3 separate regions of the Homo sapiens genome follow, and all the other regions are linked to region 3. The links are contacts of gene promoters, found by promoter capture Hi-C in blood cells and fetal thymus (Javierre and others, 2016). All regions are on one chromosome and are shown on one strand. The core of a region is centred on a gene start or on the middle of the fragment in contact, and the rest is flanking DNA. Distances in the headings are between cores, read along the strand shown. Region 1 overlaps RBFOX2 (RNA binding fox-1 homolog 2). Region 2 overlaps RBFOX2 (RNA binding fox-1 homolog 2). Region 3 holds the start of APOL6 (apolipoprotein L6).

Region 1 (2,902 bases), core at 381-2,880, 130 kb before region 3:
GAGATAAGAAGCACATGAATGTAAAATAAATATGTGGAGATTTTTGGCCACTCTGTAAACTACTATCTGAAGTAGTTTTAAATATTTTTAGTTGTTAAGTGTATGTACTTAAAATATTCTTAACTAGAATCTAACAACTAGAAGGCCAATGTAGTTTCATCAGGCATTGAGGACTTACTCCTTACCAAGAAAATAATTTGTTTGAATTATTGTGAAGCAAAGGAAATTGATCTTTCTTAAGGCTTCTTTCATTGACTTTAAGGATTTGCCTGCTACCAATTCTTTTTCTTTTCTTTTCTTTTCTTTTTTTTTTTTTTTTTTTTGAGGCAGATTCTCGCTCTGTTGCCCAGGCTAAAGTTGCATTGGCACAGTCTTGACTCACTGCAACCTCCGCCTCCTGGGTTCAAGCAATTCTTGTGCCTCAGCTTCCCGAGTAGCTGGGATAACAGGCGCACACTACCACCCCTAGCTAATTTTTGGTATTTTTAGTACAGACAGAGTTTCACCATGTTGGCCAGGCTGGTCTCAAACTCCTGGTCTCAAGTGATCTGCCTGCCTTGGCTTCCCACAGTGCTGGGATTACAGGTGTGAGCCACTGCATCCTGGCCCCACATTTTTTTAAATTTACCTGATCCAATTACTTCTCTCATGTAACTCATTTGAAAGTAATGACATGAGCTTTCTCTTTGAGAAATCTAAAAGCATAGGCTGCTTCTGTCAGCTTGATGCTGTGTCCTCACTGCCCCATTTTTCTTTGGGCTGCTAAAGGGTGCACAGACTGTGTACTAATTGGTAAATGTTTTAAAAACAAAGCATAGAATTCAGAATTGCCCTGAATCTGCCTTCAAGGACTGATACAAAACCTTGTTTTTGTCCTTTGAAGCTTTCTTAACTGCTACCTAAAGTTATTTGCTGGAATGGGTGCCCTTGGAACTGTTCTGAGGCTCCTAATAGAGATTTATTTTGGAATCAAACCCATGGATGCCTCCTCTGGGATCCACCTAAGAGAAATTAATGAGCACTTTTTGTTTTGTGAATTAAGTTTAGTTTCTTAATCCTTTTATATGTTTGGGGTTGACTGTAAAATTACAGCGTATTTTGAAAATAACCAGAGAAAAGGAGGCTTTATATAGTCCTATTGTTTAGCTAAGAGTTCCTCTAACTTTTAAACAGAGTGCTTTTCTGTACAGAAATTAGCTTTATTGAATTTTTTTAGAGCAGTAATGGAAAAACTAGTCACAAAATAACTCTAAGATAGCAATACTTAATGTAAAACAGGGTTTAATCAAATTGTTCCAAAGCAAAAAGCAACTCCATACCATATCTTATTTTGTATAATAAGACCATCACCCAGGGTTTTAGGATATACCCATTTGAAAACATAAGTAAACGGTGTTCCACTGCCATGCTCATGCCCTCCTTGTCTGCCAGTATTCTTCTTTTTCCAGCTTGCCTTTAAAGTAGAATTACTCTATAGTAGTTTTTTCTTAGTTGTTGACTAGTTTTTTCCTTTTTTCCTTCTTTTGCCTTCATATTCTAGATTTGGCTTACTTAGATTATAGAATGAATATATATCATATTTGTGCACACACGTGCATACATATATATTTAAATTATTTCATGTGAATTTTAGTCTTTTTACTCCCTAATCCTTTATAAAAACATAGAATCACCTGTATCTAAGTTTCTTTGATTAACTGAAACAGAGATAGACTAGGCTTTTAAAAATGTACTATTAAGATATATGATGGAAAGTGGTATTCCTGCCAAAAAATTAACTAATTTATTCATATAGAACCTAGAAAATTATTATATGAGTTTATGTAGCTTTGTTAATTCTCCAGATTTCACCAGTAATGACAGATTATTAACACAAATAATAAGATAATGCCTAGAGTGACCATATTTCCTGGCTTATCCAGGCTAGCCTCAATTTACACCTGTTATCTTAGCATAATTATTAATAAATGACCCCTTTCTCTCTCAGAATGTCCCAGTTTGAATGATAAACTATTTACTCTCCTTATATATGCTTTGGGTAACATCTTAAAAAAGCAGTCTTTGAAAAGGAAAACATGATGCTTAATGAAAAGTATAAAGAAAAAAATACATAGTTTATTAAAGAGAAATGTGCACTAGTGATATTCTCATGTATCCTTCTAGTCTTATTTTCTCATATAGAACCTTAAAACATAACCCAAAATGGTCACCTAGTTCAGCCCCCTGTATTCTTGACCTTGCATTCTCTGCTAGAAACTTTTAGTGATTAAGAACTTGTTTTATTCAAAAGTTATTCCATTGTGGGTCAGACTTTCTACCATCTTACTCACCATCATCCAACCACATAACAATTTTTGGTGATAATTATCAAGCTTATTAAATAAAGAAATACACAGATTGTAACATTTACATTTTCTATAAGTTTTTGCCAAAATACTTTGGTATATCCTCTATTGAATGGATATGTATTAAAATATTGAATATGCTGAAGTTGTTCAGCTCTTCAGATAGTGCTCATTATTAAGTCTACTAAAGGACTACAAATATTATACAGCCCAGCAATAATTATTTAGATTTCTAGCAATTTTTTTTCTTTTTTAAAAATTGATAGATATTAGATGTACATATTTTCAGGGTATATGTGATAATCTGATACATTCATATAATCAAATCAGAGTAATTGGGATAGCCATCACCTTAAATATTTATCTTTTCTTTATGCTAGGAACATTCTAATTATTCTAGCAAATGTTTACTTAATGTGTTCTCATTACTTCTCTCAGGTAGATTTCTGGAATAATGGGGATCTAGGTTTAGGTTGGGCTTAAGTTTAGGCTGTAGTTAGGGGAGATAAAACTTCTATTCCCATTCCTTAGACACAAGTAATTTGCTGTAATGTTTT
Region 2 (3,331 bases), core at 129-2,628, 100 kb before region 3:
TCACTGCCACCTCTTTTAATCTGTCAGTCACATGTACCTGTGGTATTTAAACTGTTTTTTTATATTTAGATCTTAGCAGTTGGGGACATTTTCTTACTACTATAAATTTAGAAAAGAGAAAAAAGAGGAAGTAGAACTGTACAAATAGGATTTCTGAATCCCACATTGGGCCCTGTAGTGAGATACCAGTTGTAATTGGACTGTGCTGCTACATAAGTTTGAAGTTGCCTTAAAAATCTAGACATATGGGACTCAAACATTGAGACATGCATTTCCCTTGGCCTCTTCTCCTTTCACCTAAGAAGATCAGTGAGTTCATTTGGATAATAGCATACTTGTTAGAAGGATTGCTGATAGCTGGATGCTAGGAGAAAGAAAATAGTCGATGGCTTTTCACAATCCAGTTTATTTATGTGGCTACCCAGCAAGATTTTGGAAATGAACTAATTTGGGGAGATGTGGAATAATAATGTTTGAAAGGTTTGATTATTGAAAATCGTCTCTCATCTACCATAGAAATAATAGGTGGAAGACATCAGGTTGATCATAGCAATTTTTTCCCTTAACCCCAATTTTAAACAATAATAAGATAAAATTTAAATACTTTAAAATTTTTTTCATAAGTACTTTTCAAAGGAGACAGAGCTCAATCAAAAGCAGTGACGGTATCACCATTATTGTAAGTTTGTGTGTTACTCACATTTAATCAGTGATGCCATTTTGCCACAAAAGAACTCTATAATATCTCCTAGAACCATGGTTCTTAGCAGGGGTGGGGAGGTGGTGAGGAAAAAGAGGGAGTTAGATTCATCCAAGGATAAATAAAGTGATTCCTGGAGGCCCAGCATTAAACCCACGCTAGTTGGAATAGATCTCTGCTCTGCTGTAGTGATTTTCAGCATCACACCTGCCATTCCTTACCCACCCCCTGCCGCCATCCCCCAACCCTCTGCTCTATTGATCTATACACTACATGTAGGTAACAAGCTTTCATTTTGTCTGCTGGTCTTGAAATACACACTCTCCTCCTCAGTGTCACATAATGTCATTGTCTTCCGGGTAGAAAGAAGGTGTCTTGACATCACATGCTCACCAAAGTCCTGTTTTAATGTAAACCTAAAACAAAAATATAATAAAATTAAAAGCTAGGTTAAAATCAAGACAAGGCAAAAGTCTGCCAGTGTGAGATTAAACTAATAAATATGCAGATAAAGGTCAGATATAGGAGGGATTATATTCTATTGTATTTTGCTCTAGTTTAAAACCCAGCTACAGAACTGTGCCGAAAGATCATGTGGTCAACGTGGCAACATCATAAAGTTAATTTGATGATAAAATTGGCTCAGAGCAGAGTAGAAAAGCCCTAGGAGATGACATTGAGCCATGAAAAACTGAGACTTTAACAACTGCAGAAAACACTGGAAAGGATCTTAAAGCCAACTTTTCAAAGGCATTTTCCTTTGAAGAAGCTGGAACTTGAAGTCAGAGATAGGTTACAGATATGTGAAAAAGTAAAATTCCTAAACACAGGAAATATTTTAGCAGAATGCTGTGGATTAGAATATACGGTTGTTGACAGAGGGCGAGCATACATGTGAGTGCTGTGGGTCAGGACTGAATTATATTGCCAGTGTCAGGCAGGTTGAATAGGGGAGCGATGAAGCACTGGGCAGCCCCACTGGGGACACCAGGTATCATTCAGAATGAATTGCAAAGGAATAAGAATAATTCTTTTTAAAGGGGCATGTGTGTATCTGAATCAAGCTTAGCCAAGCCAAATTTATCCAGCTATCAGAGTTCCAAAAAGCCGTCCGTGTGTGCCCTCCTACATTAGGGTGTGCTGTGGCCATGCTAATCCCCATTTTTTGTTTTATTTCAAATCACACACAGATAGAATCTGCAAACTGCTTCAGATCAAACAGGTCTGATTGTGTGTAAATACATATGTCCTTTTTAATTTTTATTATTAATGGTTGCTTCAGTTTTGCATCAGTGCATGGTTAAAAGCAATACACATCAGCTATTTCATGACTTCATATCTCCAAATGAATTATTTCTCCTCTTTTTTTGTTTGTTTGTTTGTGCAGTCAGCTGAAGAAATGTTAACATCTCACTCTAAATCTCTCAGTGGAGTCTCTGTTCCCTTCTCTGATATAACAGATGGGTTACTGCTTGTTATAATTATTAACATTGTGGTGTGGGCCAGGGCTAGGGTGGGCAAGATTGACTATTTCTTTGGGCTGGGGAGGGGCCAGTCGTTAGGGTATGGAATGTTAACTCAAGTGGTGACTGACTGTTTCCGTAATACCAGGTCGTTGTGGCTGCACGCTCTAGTAATTGAGGCTGTGTACTTCACCGAGCTTGTGGTAGAGCCTAGGGCAAACCGCTGTCCCAAGAGAATGCTGGGATAGATAGAGTTAGCCAATACGAGTCTGAACGTGGTGATTTTGCTGGTTGTTTAGCTCCAGATGTTGGCATGCTTAGTTTTTAATGTGATTAATAAATGTGGCGCCATATCCCTCCCCACGCCTGAACCCTGTCTCTTCTACCTCCTTCCCACCCTTGTTCTTTTTGAAAAACTTAAGAAACAGTAATGAAAACCTTGGTGTTTCAAACTGCACTTTGTTCTCATGTTTTATAAAAGCCTTTAGATTTGCTAGTAAGAGTGAAAGCTGAAAAAACGGTTTCTCAGCCTGAAATTTCTATGCACTTTGAAATCTGGAATAGAAATAAATATATCTGAATTTTCTTTTTCTCACATTTTGTGATATGTTTTGTTGAATAAAGCAGCAAAAATACTTTCGAGTAAGTGTATGTGTGTGTGTGCGTGTGTGTGTGTAAGAGAGAGAGAGAGGAATACATCCATGATACACAATTAATTTTTCTACTTTTGGAGTAGTCATTAGTGAATTACCAAGTTAGTTTAGTAGGATATTGCCTATCTATCCTAAAATAGTTCATCTTTTAAAGGTTTCTCTGTAATGCCATTATTATAAAGTAATCAGGAGAATAATCATGTTAAAGTCATCTGCTTTAAAAAAAACTCTTCATGTGTTTTTTCTTAGTGCTGATATTCTTGAGCCTTTTGTTTTCAGTAAAGTATTTGCCAACCCTGTTCTGTTTTCTTCCACTTGAAAAGCAGAGAACTTCATCATGTTTAAACTTCAAAGTCAGACTTGACTTATCAAAGAAGGAAACCGCTACAGATAGATTCTCTCCATCTCCTTCTGGATTGGAAGGAAGATTCTTTTCCATAGTCTGATCCATTTGAATTGTTTTGATTAGCAGTAACATTACTCCTAAACCACCAAGGTTCCTATGGCTTCCTGTA
Region 3 (2,854 bases), core at 245-2,744:
GTCTCAGCTGGAGAGGGTACTGCTGTTGGTATGTAGAGGGCAGAGGCCAGGGATGCTGCCAAGCACCCTACGATGCAGAGGACAGCCCCCACAACCAGGGATCACCTGGTTGAACATGACAAGGTTGCTGGGGGTAAGAGACTCTGGTCTGGAACCCCATTTTTTACCAGCGTCCGCCAATACCTCTCTCATTTTTTTACATTAGTCCTATGGGATGCAGGGCAAAGGTAACAGCAGGAAACTCATCTAAGCAGGTCCCATTCCATCCCCTCTGACCTGCTCTTGGTGGTTGCGAGAGGATTTGCTTGTGAGAGGTTTATTGGAAGAGGATTTGAGAACTTACTTTCATTTGAAAGCTTACAGGATATTTATGACAGTCTTTCCTTACCTGCCTTCCCCCACAAAACCAACTTCTGCAGATACACAATCTAAGTAAGAAAAATCTGCTTACTTTGAAAACACAGCTTCAAGATAACCTCCCTAGATTTTTTTTTTTTTTTTTGAGACCGGGTCTCACTCTGTTGCCCAGGCTGGAGTGCAGTGGTGCGATCACTGCTCACTGCATTCTTGACTTCCTGGGTTCAAGTGATCCTTCCACCTCAGCACCCTCCCAAGTAGCTGGGACTACAGGTGTGCACCATCACGCCCAGCTATTTTTTGATTTTTTGTAGAGACGGGGTCTCACTATGTTGCCCATGCTGGTCTCAAACTCTTGGGCTCAAGCAATCCGCTTGCCTTAGCCTCCCAAAATGCTGGGATTACAGGCATGAGCCACTGCGCCTGGCCTAGTCGCCCTAATATTTATCACAAACTCCCTCACCCTCTTCCCCAAACAACTTCACATAAATCTACAATCTAGAAAACTCTGTAGGTTGGCTTTGCAGTTTCTAGACAACTCACCCAGCACCTTTTTTCTTGTGAGATGACACCCCTAAACCACTCCTCTACTGAATTTCTAGGGAAACGCCTGTGGCTGATGTAATCATCTGCTTTCTAAGGGCCAGGTCCCCTCTGCCTAAGCCCTCGGATCCCCAGCAGTGGAGGGACAAATGCAACTTGGCTAGTCACATCGCATGCTTTAGCATGTTTCAATTTAACCCTGAAATGGCTGTAAGGGAGGGAAACCTACCAGGATTAACACAGGAGAAGTTAATCCTCAGACTCTCCTCAAGCTCTGGCTGGCATTTGAACCCCGCTGCTTTCACAGCAGCTCTTTTCCCTGAGTCAGGTGCCTAAAGCCAACCCCTTGGGGGCTCTGTCCTTCAGGGACCAGAGCGGCAGCCCCCTCCTCCCCCGACTTCTGCCCGCCGTCTCACCTTCTCTCCACGGAGCTCTCCTTTGTGGCCTTGGGTCCCGAGGGAGAGGAAGATCCTGAACCTCTGTCCTTGCCTCTCCGAGGTCCCCTGGTCTGGCAGGGGGCTGTGAGTGTCTGGGCTGGAGAAAGACGGATAGGAAGAGTAGGGTGGCCTTTGAACAGGAATTGATTGCAAAACTGGTTTCGGTTAAGTGCTGCAGGAGAGAAAAAGCAAAGCTCTAGGGCTCTTCCAGGAAATCATGGGCTCCAGCTGTCACTTTCAGTTTCCTTTTTGCCAGTTTCTCTAATTGGATGAACAAGGAGGTGAAAGAGCAGAATCCAAGTCAGGAGGCCTGAGTCTCTCGTCTCTGTCCTGGCTGTGTTATAGGATGGACCTATATGGGGTATGAAAATAGCTCCTGTGGCTTAGAGCTATGGTGAGGAGCCCATGAGCAAGCGATGGGGCGCCTGTTGAATAGTGGATTCACAGTAGCTGTCATCACTGATTGTTCTGAAACTGCTTTCCTCCACAGCATCTTACGTGACGCTGATGTGGGTAACAACCCTATGAGGTGCACAGCATTAAAGGGCTAATAACTCTGAATGCAGAATCCTCTGAAAATGGAAACTTTATTTTATTATTATTATTATTATTGTTTTTTGAGATGAAGTCTCGCTCTGTTGCCCAGGCTGGAGTGCAATGGCACGATCTCGGCTCACTGCAACCTCCGCCTCCTACGTTCAAGCTATTCCCCTGTCTCAGCCTCCCTAGTAGCTGAGATTACAGGCACCTGCCACCACGCCCGGCTGATTTTTGTATTTTTAGTAGAGATGGGGTTTTGCCATGTTGGCCAGGCTGGTCTCAAACTGCTGACCTCAAATGATCCATCCATCTAGGCCTCCCAAAGTGCTGGGATTACAGGCGTGAGCCACCGCACCTGGCCTCAGAATGAAAACTTAAAAAAAAATGATAATTTATTCATTTAGTGGCAAAACCTGACCTGATCTGGCATGAATTCACCTGTGGTTTTTATGTCTCCTGCTTAATTTGAATATTTACAGTCACTGCAGAAATATTAATATGTTTGACTGAGGAGGGCTGCTGCGGGTGCGTGGGTTACATAGTACACGATACCTGCACCCCATTACCTTTCTAAAAATCCCCCAAATCAGGAACTCTGACATGCATCTGGCCTCAAGGATTGGAGATATAGGATTGTGATACTCTGTCTCCCACTTTAAGGAAGAGGAAACCCAGGCTTCTAGAAGTTGTGGGTTGTTTGTGATTACACAGCTAAGAACCAGTCCTAGGCTCTGTGTCTACAAGAATGAGCCCACAGTGAGGTTACGGGCTGAGATCTGTGTCTCTCTAGCATTTGTGTCAAATTGTGATCAGAAGCCATGTGGTTTGTTTGTATTTATATGCCCAGAAGTCCCCAGTCACCACCCCTAGCTGAGACCACATTGGAGGCTGTTGCTTTGCAGAAGGTGCGGCCCACCTAGCCAGTCCTGGCTTTGCTGTGATAGAGGCCACCTCCTGTCCCTGGGCCCTACGAGCAG

Evidence for each region. Contacts are between HindIII fragments. The CHiCAGO score rates a contact against its expected background, and 5 or more counts as called.
Region 1: a fragment that was not itself captured here is called in contact with the fragment with the promoter of APOL6 in region 3 in 1 of 17 cell types (M1 macrophages); the score reaches 6.0 in M1 macrophages.
Region 2: a fragment that was not itself captured here is called in contact with the fragment with the promoter of APOL6 in region 3 in 2 of 17 cell types (endothelial precursors and total CD4 T cells); the score reaches 6.8 in endothelial precursors.

What each region holds. Positions count from the first base shown.
Region 1 is chr22:35,773,263-35,776,164 of GRCh38, reverse strand. All of the region lies in intron 5 of RBFOX2 (RNA binding fox-1 homolog 2), which reads left to right. Among named protein-coding and RNA genes, the nearest start is that of APOL5, 57 kb to the right of the region's middle. The HindIII fragment of the contact is 1,489 bases long and covers 886-2,374 here.
Region 2 is chr22:35,749,017-35,752,347 of GRCh38, reverse strand. The region is part of intron 11 of RBFOX2 (RNA binding fox-1 homolog 2); the gene reads left to right. Among named protein-coding and RNA genes, the nearest start is that of APOL5, 33 kb to the right of the region's middle. The HindIII fragment of the contact is 777 bases long and covers 990-1,766 here.
Region 3 is chr22:35,647,086-35,649,939 of GRCh38, reverse strand. APOL6 (apolipoprotein L6) reads right to left here and starts at 1,494. Exons shown (of 3, transcript NM_030641.4): 1 at 1,317-1,494. RefSeq lists an enhancer at 1,490-1,789. The HindIII fragment of the contact is 8,876 bases long and covers 359-2,854 here.